Regions from separate parts of the Homo sapiens genome. Here regions 2, 3 and 4 are each linked to region 1. Evidence: promoter capture Hi-C in 16 types of primary human blood cells and fetal thymus (Javierre and others, 2016). All regions are on one chromosome and are shown on one strand. Each heading gives the region's core, a stretch centred on a gene start or on the middle of the fragment in contact. The rest is flanking DNA. Distances are from core to core; before and after follow the strand shown. Region 1 holds the start of CBR1 (carbonyl reductase 1). Region 2 overlaps LOC107985515 (a long non-coding RNA gene). Region 3 overlaps RUNX1 (RUNX family transcription factor 1). Region 4 overlaps RUNX1 (RUNX family transcription factor 1).

What was found. The method cuts DNA at HindIII sites, captures the fragments that hold promoters and counts their contacts. A CHiCAGO score of 5 or more calls a contact.
Region 2: a contact is called between a fragment that was not itself captured here and the fragment with the promoter of CBR1 in region 1, in 1 of 17 cell types (endothelial precursors). The highest score is 5.0, in endothelial precursors.
Region 3: a contact is called between a fragment that was not itself captured here and the fragment with the promoter of CBR1 in region 1, in 1 of 17 cell types (neutrophils). The highest score is 8.9, in neutrophils.
Region 4: a fragment that was not itself captured here is called in contact with the fragment with the promoter of CBR1 in region 1 in 1 of 17 cell types (neutrophils); the score reaches 7.2 in neutrophils.

The regions. Positions count from the first base shown.
Region 1 is chr21:36,068,320-36,071,883 of GRCh38, forward strand. CBR1 (carbonyl reductase 1) reads left to right here and starts at 1,705. Exons shown (of 3, transcript NM_001757.4): 1 at 1,705-2,085; 2 at 2,631-2,738. The coding sequence starts at 1,797. It overlaps CBR1-AS1 (CBR1 antisense RNA 1), which reads right to left. Exons shown (of 4, transcript NR_040084.1): 4 at 1,323-2,166. RefSeq lists an enhancer at 1,761-2,010. The HindIII fragment of the contact is 9,155 bases long and covers 1-3,564 here.
Region 2 is chr21:34,736,847-34,740,410 of GRCh38, forward strand. It overlaps LOC107985515 (a long non-coding RNA gene), which reads left to right. Exons shown (of 3, transcript XR_001755016.1): 2 at 580-641. It overlaps LINC00160 (long intergenic non-protein coding RNA 160), which reads right to left and starts at 336. Exons shown (of 6, transcript NR_024351.2): 1 at 264-336. The HindIII fragment of the contact is 1,585 bases long and covers 891-2,475 here.
Region 3 is chr21:34,880,977-34,884,540 of GRCh38, forward strand. All of the region lies in intron 4 of RUNX1 (RUNX family transcription factor 1), which reads right to left. RUNX1-AS1 (RUNX1 antisense RNA 1) reads left to right here. Exons shown (of 2, transcript NR_186614.1): 2 at 2,507-3,564. Among named protein-coding and RNA genes, the nearest start is that of RUNX1-AS1, 46 kb to the left of the region's middle. RefSeq lists a silencer at 1,947-1,996. The HindIII fragment of the contact is 5,547 bases long and covers 1-3,564 here.
Region 4 is chr21:35,019,607-35,023,170 of GRCh38, forward strand. All of the region lies in intron 2 of RUNX1 (RUNX family transcription factor 1), which reads right to left. Among named protein-coding and RNA genes, the nearest start is that of RUNX1-IT1, 18 kb to the right of the region's middle. The HindIII fragment of the contact is 7,607 bases long and covers 1-3,564 here.

The DNA.
Region 1 (3,564 bases), core at 455-2,954:
GTGCAACTAAAAAACTGAATTACAAATTTTGCTTAATTTGAATTTATGTTTAAATGGCCACCTGTGATAGTGGCAACCTATGGGACAGCACAGAAATGAAACTTGACCTTATTCCCAATTCCCTTGTAAGTAGGAAGGAGGAACACTCACTTTGAAACCATGCAATTGTCCCATAGGACAGATGTTTATGGTCTCTTTTTTTTTCCTTTTTTTTTTTTTTGAGAGGGAGTCACTCTGTTGCCCAGGCTGGAGTGCAGTGGCATGATCTCGGCTCGCTGCAACCTCCGCCTCTGGGGTTCAAGCAAGCAATTCTCTGCTTCAGCCTCCCAAGTAGCTGGGATTACAGGCGCCTGCCACCACACCCAGCTAATTTTTGTATTTTTTTTTTTTTTTTTTTTTTTTAGTAGAGATGGGGTTTCACCATCTTGGCCAGGCTGGTCTTGAACTCCTGACCTCATGATCCACCCACCTCAGCCTCCCAAAGTGCTGAGATTACAGGCGTGAGCCACCGCGCCAGGCCTGGTCTCTTTTGAATAAACAAATTGACCCTCCCAGTCTAAAAACTTGAGAAATTTACATTTGTCTTATCTGAGTTCCTTTCTCAGGGAACTAGCCATCAGTCCTCCCAGATAGCACCAAGGAACTGAAACTTATCGGATCACCACATCTGGAAAATCAGACACCAGACCCCTCACCTGCAACAATTGCCTGATGCCTGTTGACCCACTCCTCTTCATCTCTCCCTAACTCCTGCTATTTTCCCACATGCAGTTACATTTCTTCCCTGCTATATCCTAATTTTAATCAGTTGAGAAGATGGATTTGAGACTGATCTCTCCCCCCTAGGCTGTAGCACCCAAATAATGCCTTCTTCCCTGACAATAATGGGGTCTCAGTGACTGGCTTTCTGTGCTGTGAACCACCAGACCTAGACCAAACTCCTGGCATTTCTCTAACAATTTCCCACCACTGAACTAAGTTATAAATTCTGAGGATGGATCCCTGTTTCTTCATTTTAAGATGGGGATTAAAAGGTACATCCTAGAGTGTTATTGTCCGTGTAAAATAGGGCTGTGAAACCCCCTACACCTATGCACAGATAAACTGATGGCCCTGCAAATGCCCAGAGAAGTAACCTTATAAAGATTTAGTGAATGTTTCCCACCATTATTGGAAAATCTGGCTAAGTCAGTAGCTTTGTTTTCATATACTTAGGGGGAAAATCAACAAAAACTTGATGCCCTGTTATTTCCTTCCAGTTTCTTCTGCAACTCTAGCTCCAAAGACTGCAGTTCCTGCAGTATTTTTTTTTTTAGAACACCAGGAAAAAAAGAAAAAAAAACCATGCAAATGTACTATTTCTTCAAACACAACTAGGAATGATTGAACAGCTGGGAGAATATGAAGAAAACCCCTCAGAGAACCAAGGGCAAGCAGTGAGTTCAGATCTAGGCACATGGCCACTAGGAATGGTTCTTCACTGCCACGTGGGCAGCCAACAGCCAGTAGCTAGAGACCAGCCTCGGTCTTCGGCCTGCGGGTTCTGCAAAGTCAGGCTAGCTGGCTCTCCGCCTGCTCCGCACCCCGGCGAGGTTCCGGTGGGGAGGGGTAGGGATGGTTCAGCCCCGCCCCGCTAGGGCGGGGCCTGCGCCTGCGCGCTCAGCGGCCGGGCGTGTAACCCACGGGTGCGCGCCCACGACCGCCAGACTCGAGCAGTCTCTGGAACACGCTGCGGGGCTCCCGGGCCTGAGCCAGGTCTGTTCTCCACGCAGGTGTTCCGCGCGCCCCGTTCAGCCATGTCGTCCGGCATCCATGTAGCGCTGGTGACTGGAGGCAACAAGGGCATCGGCTTGGCCATCGTGCGCGACCTGTGCCGGCTGTTCTCGGGGGACGTGGTGCTCACGGCGCGGGACGTGACGCGGGGCCAGGCGGCCGTACAGCAGCTGCAGGCGGAGGGCCTGAGCCCGCGCTTCCACCAGCTGGACATCGACGATCTGCAGAGCATCCGCGCCCTGCGCGACTTCCTGCGCAAGGAGTACGGGGGCCTGGACGTGCTGGTCAACAACGCGGGCATCGCCTTCAAGGGTATGGGGAGGGGACGTGGCCTCCCCGAAGAAGAACCGATGCACTGGGGCTCCTGGCGTCTGCGGGGTCCATAACGCCTCCCTAGGGAGGAGAGGGAGGAGCTAGGAGATGCAGGGAGTGCAGAAACCTTGGAGAAAGTGAGAGTTTTCCAGCCAAAGGGAACTTTGTGTTTCCCTGGCTGGGACTCTTGGGGATCTTTTTCAGGTTTTCTGCAGTTTTTCTGAATTGAGCTTTAAGGCAACTGGATGGATTTTGAACTGATTTTAAAATAAACGACAAATTGCAAAAAGAAAAAATGGTTATGCCAAGATCCAGTGTGTGCACCCTTCATCCTCCTTCCCCCAATGGTGCCATCTTACAAAAATACTAGAACATGATCAAACCAGGAGATTGACATTGGCACAATACTGTAACCAGATACAGACTTACTTTAGGCAGAGGGCACTAAGTTTTTTTTTTTTTTTTTTTTTTTTTTTAGTATCATTGTATAGAATTTTACCCCATGGGTACAATGTATTAACTATGTTCTCTTTCTCTCCTAAAAGTTGCTGATCCCACACCCTTTCATATTCAAGCTGAAGTGACGATGAAAACAAATTTCTTTGGTACCCGAGATGTGTGCACAGAATTACTCCCTCTAATAAAACCCCAAGGTGAGTCTGATGGGAAACAGCGCACCTTCTCTTTGGGGCTTGATTTGGCCCCTGCTTGCCTGGGATTTCTCCTGCAGGCTCCTGCTTCCTCTCCATGCTGCACGTGCACTGACCTCTGTGCTTTTTCTCCTGCCAGCTGATATGTGCCATTTTGCCTCAGGACTTTGTCCTCACTTCTCCCACTCCCATGGCCATTCGTCCTCCCTGTCGCACTGGTCTTTGCACACCTGGCTGACTCTCATCCTTCAGGTCTTAGCTCAAACGTCTCCTGAGAGATGCTCTTTATTTGCTCCATTCCCCTCTGCGTGGGAGTCCATCCTGTACCCTTTCTCTGCTCTTTCAGAGAGATCTTATTCAGGCTGGTGGAGGCTTTACTACCACCAGTTCATTAGGCCCTTCTAATACCTGTCACCTGTCTGAAACACTCCTTAAGCTCCCAACCACATGGTTGTCTTGCTGCCTTTCCATCTCTTCCTGATGCCTTTCCCCACAATCTAAGATATTTCCAGAGGATCCCTATCCTTTTCCCTAAGTCGTTTGGGACACAGACCCCACCACCCACCCACCAGGATCCTGCAGGTCACCATGCCCCACCCCTCATAATCATTTACTAGGTCCTAGGAGTTGTGCCCACTGAGTTCCTCCTGAATCCGTCTCATTGCAGCTCTACAGCAGGCCCTCACCTGTCCCTCTGGACAATTGCAAACCCTCACAAGGCACCTCTGGTCTTGAGTCTTTTCCTCTTTTCCTTTCCCAGCATCCTGCGTACTGTCTGCATGGTCATGCCTCTCCCAAAATCCTTCAGGAGGAAAGTCCAAGCCCTTAG
Region 2 (3,564 bases), core at 433-2,932, 1.3 Mb before region 1:
TCTAAGGCAGATCAGTTTGTTCATTGAAAATTTTCAACATGCTAGACATTCACATTGCTTCAAAATCTAAAAGTCTAAAAGGGTTTCCTTTCTTTTACTTCTCCCCCATCGGCCTGGGCTCCCTTCCCACAGATGACTTCTTTGTTTGTGGAGGCATATGTATTCTAGAATATGTGTATCCCAATACAAACAAATATGACACACACTCTTATCTCCCCCTTTTATTACATGAAAGGTAACATCCTATACACAATATTCTGTACCTTGTTTTTCAGCCACCTTACAAAATGTCCTGGAACTTCTGTCCCCATCAGTACACAGAGAGCTTCCTCATTCCTTTTTAAAGCCGCATAGTAGTTGTTTGAATCTAGCATGCTTTATTTAACTAATCCTTTCTTGATGGACATCTAGGTTTGTTTCCAAGTATTTGCCATCACCAGCAAAGCTGCCATGAATTATCTCACACACATGTCATCTTAAAAGTGTCTCGGCAGCACAAATTCCCAGAAGATGAATGACTGGGTCAGAGGGCATGTGGATTTGTAGTTTTGTTAATGATCACTCTGTTTCTTTCTGCAGGGGTTGTGCCAATTCACATGCTCACTGGCGGTACACAAGAGTCCCACAGCCTCCACCAAAGAGTGAGTTACCCAACTCTGCATTTTTCTCCCAATCTCAGTGTAATCGAATTTGAATATCTATTCCTATGTTTAAGAAAGAGGATTTAAAGAGTTCTGGTTTTGTCTCCTAAAAGGAAAAAAAAAATGCATCTGGAACCTCCATGTTACTTGTTTACATTTAAGGATAAATGAAAAATGCAGTAATTTCCCGTAATGTCCACAAAATCAGTGACTTGCCGAAGTCCACACACCTTTCCCTATCTGGAAAGAAGCTTCTGTGGAAGGCCTCTGTTTCCCAGGATACCTCACTTCCCACCGTCCCAGGGACAGGCTGTGAGATCCCACTCCTCCACACTCCCCACTGTTGACTCCCCACAGTCAGCTCCCCTCTGAGTGCCCAGCCTGGGCTCCAGTAGTTTATTTAAAAGCATGACGAGCCCTCTAATTATGGAGATAAAAGCTGCCTGTGATGCAGAGCAGGGCTTGGGTTGAAAGGTCTCTTTTTTGGCTCTTTCCCATCTCATTAGAGTTGCGGGGGTGGCTGGTCACCCCAAGGTTTAATCCTTGGAGGCAGTGTGACAGCAAATGTGGCAAGAATCACAGCTCATTGATTGTTCCATTAAAAATTTCTACAGGTACCTGTAAAAGTGCCTTTCAAGTTGCTTCAGTCTGAAGAATCTTATTGCTCCTAAATTGAGGTCAATTAATCCCCTGAAAATGTGTGGCATTCACAATTTGATGTCATGGCCTCCATGTGAACATCTCTCTCTGCATGGATGGAGGAAGCGAACAGCTCTTCCTTCTTCCTGCCTTTCCCACTTCCCCTAAATCTAAAGAGCAATTCTCTGCCTTTGCGAGCATAGGCTGGTGAGAGCAGGGAGAGCAAGACCACACTGCTCAGCAGCCGTGTTTACCATCTGATCATCATGGAGGGACAACTGAGTGCACAGTGTCCTTCCATCCATCATTGCAAGACCAGGGAAGGAAATTTGGCCCTCGGGCAGGCTGTAGCCCAGGAAAAAGGCTATCCTCAGAAGGCCAGCCGCCTTCTCTAGTTTGCAAACAGCACAGATTTAGAGCTTGCGTTCCTTCTCATCCCAGGAACCACATATGAGCACCTCTCCCTGCCATGGTTCTCACGATGCCTGGATGGTCCTTATTTAAGTATTGAATCAGGAGAGGGCAAGAGGCTTCACCCAAGACGGCTGTGAGGTGGGGATGCTTGAGCTGCCCGCATCTGCTGGTCAATGTGTCACCTCCATCCTCTAACCCAGAGAGCATTTCTCTTCATTTCCTCTGCTTCTTGCTCCCTACATTCAACACTCTGACCTCACTCTGCCATCTCTCAAAAGCTAACCCCAGACTCCTCTTCTCAGTACAGGGCTCTGGTGACCAGGGAGACTGGGATGTGATGAGCAGGGCCTTGGGAGCCAGTTATAGAGAGTTAAGTCCTGGCTTGGTCATTTACAATCCCTGAGTACTTTAACTTTTCTGAAATGTAGTTTCTTCATCTGCAAAATGGGCTAGTAATACCAATGTGCAACAGCAATAGGTGAGGATTGAAGGAGACATTTAGGAAGTCTCTGGCCCCATACAGAGTACTCATGGCAGCTGTGAAAGTGTGCTTCCCGGGTGGAGGATGAGCCCATCTACTGGTCCTTTGGATCCACTAGTGGGTTTGCTTGGAGGTCACACTTACCACAGCTGCTCCCAGGTGGTGACTGGGCCCTACAGGGATGCGAAGACAGGCCCATTCCAGAGAGATGTGGGATTTCTCTGACAGACAGTTGTGGCTCAAGGACTCTCCCTGAGCCTTGCTAGAACTTTCTTGGAGCTGTGCTGCAGTGTCTAGACAAGCTTCCTTCCTTTCCTCCTCCTCCTTCCCTCTGACCTTCACAGGGCCAGACCTGCACCATAGCTTGAGGGTTCTCCCACCTTCTTGGCCCCTTCCAGACCGTGTCTCCCAAGAAATCCCTCAGGTGTCTAATCCCATCTTGGTATCTGTTTCTGGAAGACCCAAACTACACAGCACTCAAACCATTTTAGTTCCATCTCCTTTTTGCTAAATATATAGTTTAAAGGCTGTGTTTAAGGATTACCTAGAAATCATTTTAGGGTATAATGACATGTTATTTATTTATTTTAAAATTATGTTTGCTCCACTTGGTGAAAATTTCTGTAAGTACCTCTGAGATCATGGATCCTGGGGCTTCACTGAGCATCAACCTTTGGGGAACTGCTTCTAATGCTGATAAAAGTGTCAGGATCTTTCCTTGTTGACTGGGACTGGCATTTTTTATGTGAGGGCAGGAGAACAGCGTTAGCATCTCTGCAGGTGTTGTGCTGCCCCAAACCAGCATCTTTCTTCACAGGGGGGCTAGAGAGGGTGGGGGGCCACTTCAGGCCCTAGAACCTTTGGGTGCATGAATAGAAGTGCCATCAGCCTCTTTGCGGTCTCAGAAGACAGTACTCTTTTGCTCTATCTGATTTTTTTTTTTTAAGGAATCTTACCTCCTTGGTGCTAAGTGGTGACAGATACTTTGACACTTACTTCTTTTGCCCCATAAATCAGCCCTGGGTCCTGGGCAGCTTAGAATCATGAGACCATAAAAATATGAAATGACAAAGCATGGAGTGGTCTTAGAGATAATTAAATTGACCTGCCTTACTTGATACTTGAGGAAAGAGGCCTAGAGTACATCAGAAGTGAATCTACCCTTGACTTCCTTTTTAAAAAATCCATCCATTCATGCATTCACCTACCAGTCCATTCATCCAACCAGCCATCCATCTATCCATCCATCCATTCCTCCATCCACCCATCTAACCTTCCATCCATCTACCCACTCATCCATCCATCCATCCATCCACCCACCAAACCACATAATTCATCCACCTACCCATCCATCCATTCAACCATCCATCCATCCACACACCAAATTAC
Region 3 (3,564 bases), core at 612-3,111, 1.2 Mb before region 1:
ACCTAATACATTATGTATAACTATATGTAAATTTTCAAATAGTGACACATATACTAAATTTACCTCATAAAGCCATAGTAGGTCACATAGCACAGTTGGAACAAGACTAACCATAGCAAGATATCAAGGATTTTGAGTAGCTATGCCGTCTCCTGAATACAAGCATCTCTTCTTAATTTCTCCCGTTTGAGAAACAGAACATCCTGTGTTTGTAAGTTTATAATCCAACCCATCTTTTACTTGCTCAGACCTCCACTAACAGGCTGAACAAGGTGCAGACTTTACTTTTAGAAAATAAAACAAAACAAAAAAACACAAAAAAACCCAATTTCTGCTAAAAGTAGATTTCATCTTGCTGACGATTCTTAAGTAACTTAAACTGTCCCTCTACAGTTCATCTTTGATACCTCCTACTCATCGCTATTATCTTGAGTTTTACTAGCAATGAATTCTAGCACACAAGAAAAAAAAATCAGAAATGCACCCTTCGTTTACTAATTACAAAATCAACAGACCTCAGAAAGACGGGACATTCACTTCTATGCACTCCCCTCAATTCAGGGGTGGAATTGGGTTGCATTTTTGTATCTGTGAGTCTCAGCGTGTGTAAACTCATGTCCTCACAGATGCCTGAGGTTTTCTGCTAGCCCAGCTGATCTTGACCAGGAATTTATTTAATGTAACTGAGTAAGTATGAAGTCTTATCAGGGCTATTGGAGAAAACTGGTAGATAAATGTTTTTATACTCAGGTAATTAAGAAAATGAATTCCAAAGTAAAATACTCTGAAAAGCATGACCTAAAGATACTTTGTACAATAGCATCAATTTCTTGGCTATCATTTAGGCCTTCTAGAAACTATTTTCTTGGTCTAGACATTTACTATTGGCTGTATTTCCTTTGTTTCTATTTTTCAAAGCAGTCATACAACTTCAAATCGAAATGCCCCAAGCTGTATTTATTCTGATCATTTCTGACATTCTTTACGGTAAAGTCAGTAGTGACATTTATATTACTCATTCCAATTACATCATCATTTTTGGTTGCTGTTTTTGAATTGGTAACAGTAAAGCATTCCTTAATCTAGTGTTATCACTCCTTCCTCTGCCTCCTACTTCCCAATTTTTACCTTAATAACTGCTACATAATTTTTTGTAGTATATATTTTCAGGCCTCTTTTTCTATATGTAAAAAAGGCTGCCATAGACTCACTTGTATGATATCGAAGTCATGTTTCTCAAGATTCCCATTTTCATGATCTGCTTAGCCATCACCCTTTCCCTGTGGCCTCCAGATGACTATCTATTGTTTTTATTCATTAGAACTGCTTCAGTCCTTGTGGCACAGAACACGAACTAACTCACTATGAGAGATGAACATACTTCCAACCCCAAGACTACACCAGGATAATCTAGTCTCATAGAAGCAGGGAGGCATTTTCCTCTATTTTATCCAACTTGCACTGCCAAACAAGGTCTGGGCCTTTTCTCTCTTTTTAATCCTTTCATTCCAATTGTTGGACATGTTTTCCATATAGGAGATTTTAAAACTCTGCTATTTATTCCCCAAGCACCCTCTAATTAGCTATTTAGTTCCCATTATAAGTGTGTTTGTTGCCATTTAATTAAGAGCAGTGATACGACAATTCCCTTTTTGTTTTAAAAAGATATCACGGAAATAAATCTCCCTGATCAGTTATTTGGTTATTGCTACTGTTTTTTTTTTTTTTCTATTCCCGAAAAATGGGCTTGCTTTATTTTGCTCTTTTTAGTCTCTCACAACAAATTTTCCCCTTTTTTTCATGATTTTCACTTCCCGTTGTAAAGTTAGCTCACAGTGTTGAAATGCCCTCTTTGAACACATATTTTTACTTCCTCATCCTCCTCTCCCTGTGGTAACCCAGGCTTCTCTATTGTAACTCAACATTCAGCAGGTATACAGAGACTGCCTCCACTACGTGGGTTTCAAACTGAATAACTCATTGTTGGGTCTGGATCTGTAAAAAGGTGAAAATAAATAAATCTTCTTTTATAACTACAGGAATGTATTCTGAATTATCTGCCTCCTACTGCTGTTCCCCTCACAGTGCTCCAAGCCTGTGCCTCTCTCATCTTTCCAATACTATCCTCATTGGTAATTTGGCAAATTCAGGAGACCTTCGCCAAGTCGAAACAAACATAGAATAAAATTATCATGGAGGCTAAATAAGAAAAGGCTGTTGATGTTGGAACTTAAGAAGAAAAAAATTAGAAGTTTAACTCCCACTCCTCTTTTTTTTTAAATGCAGCAGAATCAACCATATTTGGGCACCTACATATCATTCACTTGGCCTTGTATTGATCTCTGAGGGTTTTTTTTTGGTGGAGGCGGGTGGGTAAAGGGGAACTAGTAAATCCAGGGCAATTCATTAATACTGTATATCGTCCAATTGTTAACAAGCATACTTAAGCCAGGTTTAAAAAGTTTCTTTTTAATTCAAAACTAACATGCGTGCTAATTTGATACAGGTTTTGTCACTGATGGGCAATATGGAGAGAATGTAAAAATATCTAACTTCAAACAGAAAAAAGAAACAACTGGAATGAAAAGCTATAAACAATAGGTAAGGAAACACAAACATTTACATTTTAACACAGACCAAACAGGCAAGAAGGGACTTGCTGGCCAAAGATATCTCATATTTTGTTTTACTTCTCTGTTTTTAAAGTATCAGGAAGTTGGGCCAAATATCAACTCTCTTCTATATTACATGGACCTCCCAATACTGTTCTTGGCTAGCCTGTTCACGGTCCAAACTGGCATTTTAAACCAATTCTAATTAGGTTGAAATTACAGTTACAATTCATTTACTTCAAATCCGTTAACCTTCCAGTGTTGCAAAGAAGGCTGTGGAGTGGAACACAGAATTCAGCTGAGATGATATTTAAGGCATAGCTAGGGACTGTGATCTTGCCGACAAAAATATTACTTATTTCCTTTTTATGAAAAGAATATTACCATCAGAATCCAAGACCTCCGAACTTCCCTGCTGAAGGCACGTTTACGTCTTTGGACTCTGGTGTACCAGGGCCTGAACAAGCTATAACACCATGGTATTACCAAATACATCCTAAGTCATCAAAACAGCTTTTTAGGCTAATTCTGTAAGTACAGCAAAACACACAGCAAACTTAAGGTTTTCTTAGTAGTAAAAAACATGTATCTCTCATACTGTAAAAAATAAAGGTGTTCCATGGGAGGGAAGGAGTAGGGGGAGAACAGGTTGGGGCTCAAAATAAGCAAGTAGGGTTATTGTAATCTATTTTAAAGAAAATTCATAATTTTAAATCTCTCTTTAGTTCAGAAGATTGACGTAGAGGATTTACCTACAGAACTTCAGGAGATTCCTAAGAAGGCCTTCAGTGATCTTTTCATCAATATCATCAGGCCTTATCATTGTTTCACATTTGCTTCTCTTTACCATAGGGAATATAATAATTATTTACTGGTTAACTTCCTAGGGAGATTGCCTGCGGCTTATTTAAGATCCAAATTTTAAAGTAATAATTTCTGTTGAAGCTGCTTG
Region 4 (3,564 bases), core at 285-2,784, 1.0 Mb before region 1:
GGCAAACCTCCTTGAGCCCTTGAGCCTCTGCACCTCACACAGGATCACACCCACACCCCCCAGAAAGCTGAATAAGACCTATGCAAACAACCTTCCAGGGAAGGGATCGACAACCACAATCAGCCTTCTGCCTAGTTAATCATAAACCCAAACCTGCCGAAGCCAAGTCCATCGCCAGAACAAGGGGACAATTAGCATTGCCCTTTGCACACAGCTACTCACTGGGAAAATCGTGCACTGATCAGTGCACGCGGCTTCAACTTTCTCCTGACCCCAGAAGATTCTAGCGAAGGGCTGCTTGGTTATAGAAATAGAAAGCCCTTATCAGGAAGCTGTCAATTTCATGACAAACTTGGTATCGGGGAAGCAGATAATGGGCTGTTTACATAGTCTTAGGCGGACCAGGATTCATCTTGGGTCTTAGGGTTTCCCAATTCCAGATATTTCAAATATGGAAAACAGCAAAACAAGTCAAAATGATTTAATACTGTATATATAGCAATAAAAAAACTGAAAAAGTATTATTTTCTAAATCTTTAAGAGTTGCAATTAGATTTTTTTTTTAACCAAAATAGCACAACTGTTCCCCTTCTCTATAGAAAGTTTTCATTAGTTCCTCCCCGACCTTACTTTCCAGAGGACCTGGTAATAAACAAAAGAATGATCCCTTGAGCATTTTTCATCATAGCATCATGCTTTTAATGGAGCAGAGATGAATCCTGGGCTGCTGTGACCCACGGGTAGAAAACACAGTGCTTCTGTGTTTGGGTTTGATCACCCTCATGGAGAAAGTGGCTCCTGAAGACAGATGTAATTAGTTCTAATGTCTGAGGCCTTTGGGGATGTTCCTAAGGCTTTTTATTGAGAAGGCAAAGCAAGCAGAGGTGAGATCTGGGAGGATAAAGTAGAAGGCAATGAGACCCGAAAGAGTTTGGCTTATGCAAAGGAATTTCCATGAGCACCCACAAACATTGGTCCAGGTACTCTCTTAGTCACTGTCCCCTCGAGGATGGGGAAGAGGAAGCTGCCAACGTCACCTGGCTGCTGCATCGACTTCCTCCTCTTGCCCCATCATCCATCTCAGTTTTAGATTTAAGCCAGGACTGATTCTCTGTGGTCTAGGCTGATGTGCAAGTGAGAATCTTGATTAGAAAACCCCCAAATAACTAAATAAATGAAGTCTGTTGCTTGTTTAATGCCTTTAAATAGTGTCTCATTTATAAAATGTATTTACAACCTTTAAAAGTACACTTTGCTTCTATGGGGACTTATGGAACGTTCTGACCTAAGTCCTTGTCAGTAGCTTTGAGAAGGGGAATGAGGTCCCCACAAAGAATCTGGGGCTTCCCATCATCTCCACTTACCTTCAGGCTGGCTGGCTGAGGCACTTGGGTAATGACTTTGGGGAGACAATAACATGTTTAGCTTTAGTCTTTTCTCAAGAGAAAATTCCATCTTGGCAGTGTCCACCAGGGATACTCTGTCCCTAGGTTTTGGAGTATGCTCATTCCCCATGACTGGCAAAGTAAAATTGAACCATGGAGCCAGAAAGTCTGAGTCAGTCTGAGTCAGGCCCTGTAACCCTGCACACCAATCTGTTTCTCAGTTTCCCATCCGCAAAATGGGGTGAATAGCTGTATCTACTATGTAAAGATTGTTCTGAGGATTACATGAGTTATTATCTGCAAAGCACCTAGAACAATTCCTGGCACATAGCGAGCGAGCACTGTCTAAGTGTTTATGAACTAACTAAATAAATGGTCTTAACTTTCTAGGTGCTGATTTTTTTCTCTATCAGGGAAAATGTTTCTGTGTGCTATTTGTGGAATAAGCAATAATGATAGAAGCTCCAAACATAGTCACTTAAATACACTATGAGCACTATGCGTGTGCACATACACATAATATATAAATACACTGAGCTAAACATTACTATCTTCCCCATGTCAAGCTCTGAAGCAACTGAGAAATAAACCCCTGAAATCAAATGAAGAAGTAAATACCAGCATTTTGCTTGTAGAGTTGAGTTGGAGAAAGAGCCCATCTGGGGTTTCTTCCAGAGCATGAGAAGTACCTGCAGGGACCTACCCAGCCAGCCACAGGGGCCTGCGCTGACCTCATCTCTGCTGAGCCCTGAGATCAGGACATAGCTGGGGTGGGAGCGGGCCCTGCCTCAGGCCTCATCCAGGGAGACAGAGGCAGAGGAGAATGCACCATATCAGGCAGGCTGTCCCCAGAAGGCCTCTCTCAATCTCTCCCATTGGATGTGCCTCTCCTCTCATAAGGCGGAAGAAGGCAGAGGCAGATAGAAGCTCAGAGCTCTTCTCTCAATGCTTCCAAAAGGGTAGGAGTTCCCATTTAAGAGGCTGGCAAGAACTCCAGGAGCAGGCGAGAATGATCCCCAAGACACATATCAATGTGAAATACATGTGTTTATATTGTGAAACAGTCAACTCCAGCTTCAGAAGCAGTTTGCTGGGGATCATTGTCCCCTCCAGACTGAACACGGGCTAACATGTAGCTGAGAGCGGGTGTAGACAATAGTCTTGAAGGAGCTGATTGGCGGTTCCGTGGTTTACCAGCAGCACCGGGCAAAGGAATGTGGCTTACCTTTGAACAGACGAAAGAGGGTGGAAGCGTCTGCACCAGGTGTGTGCAGGCAAGGGCATGTTGAGAGATAGGCTGGGTGGTAAAGAGAGGTTCCTTCTCGGTCTTACTCTTGATGGAGTCCGCTGGTTTTCTAGCCTGCGCCCCGCAGGAGTGCCTGAAGGGTGTCTGGTATCAGTAATCTCCTATCCCTAAACCAGCAGGAGCTGGGGAACATTTAACAACCAGCTCTTCAGGATAAACAGCTTTGACTTATAACATGTGCAGATTTCAGCAATCACTGCTGATCACTATAGTTCCTCTCACAGCAACACTCTATGTTAGAGCATTTCCACCATTTAGAGATAAGAAACAAGTGCATATAGATCTTTGTAAACTGCAATAAAATAATAAGGCAGAGGCTGGGCGCTGTAGCTCAGGCCTGTAATCCCAGCACTTTGGGAGGCTGAGGCGGGCGGATCATCTGAGGTCAGGAATTCGAGACCAGCCCAGCCAACATGGTGAGATCCCATCTCTACTAAAAGTACAAAAGCTAGTGGGGTGTGGTGGCGGGTGCCCGTAATCCCGGCTACTCAGGAAGCTGAGGCAGGAGAATTGCTTGAACCCAGGAGGTGGAGGTTGCAGTGAGCCGAGATCGCGCCAGTGCACTCCAGTCTGGGCAACATGAATGATACTCTGTTTGAATAATAATAATAATAATAATAATAAGGCGGAGATTATTTTTTAGTGATTTTGACCTTTTTTTTTTTGAGACAAGGTCTTGCTCTGTTGCCCAGGCTGGAGTACAGTAGCATGATTACGGCTCACTGCAGCCTCAGTCTCCAGGGCCAGTGATCTTTCAGCCTCAGCCTCTTCAGTAGCTAGGACTACAGGTGTATGCCACCATTCCTGGAAAATTTTTGTACTTTTTTGTAGAGACAGGGTTTTGCCATGTTGCCCAGTCTGGTCTCAAACTCC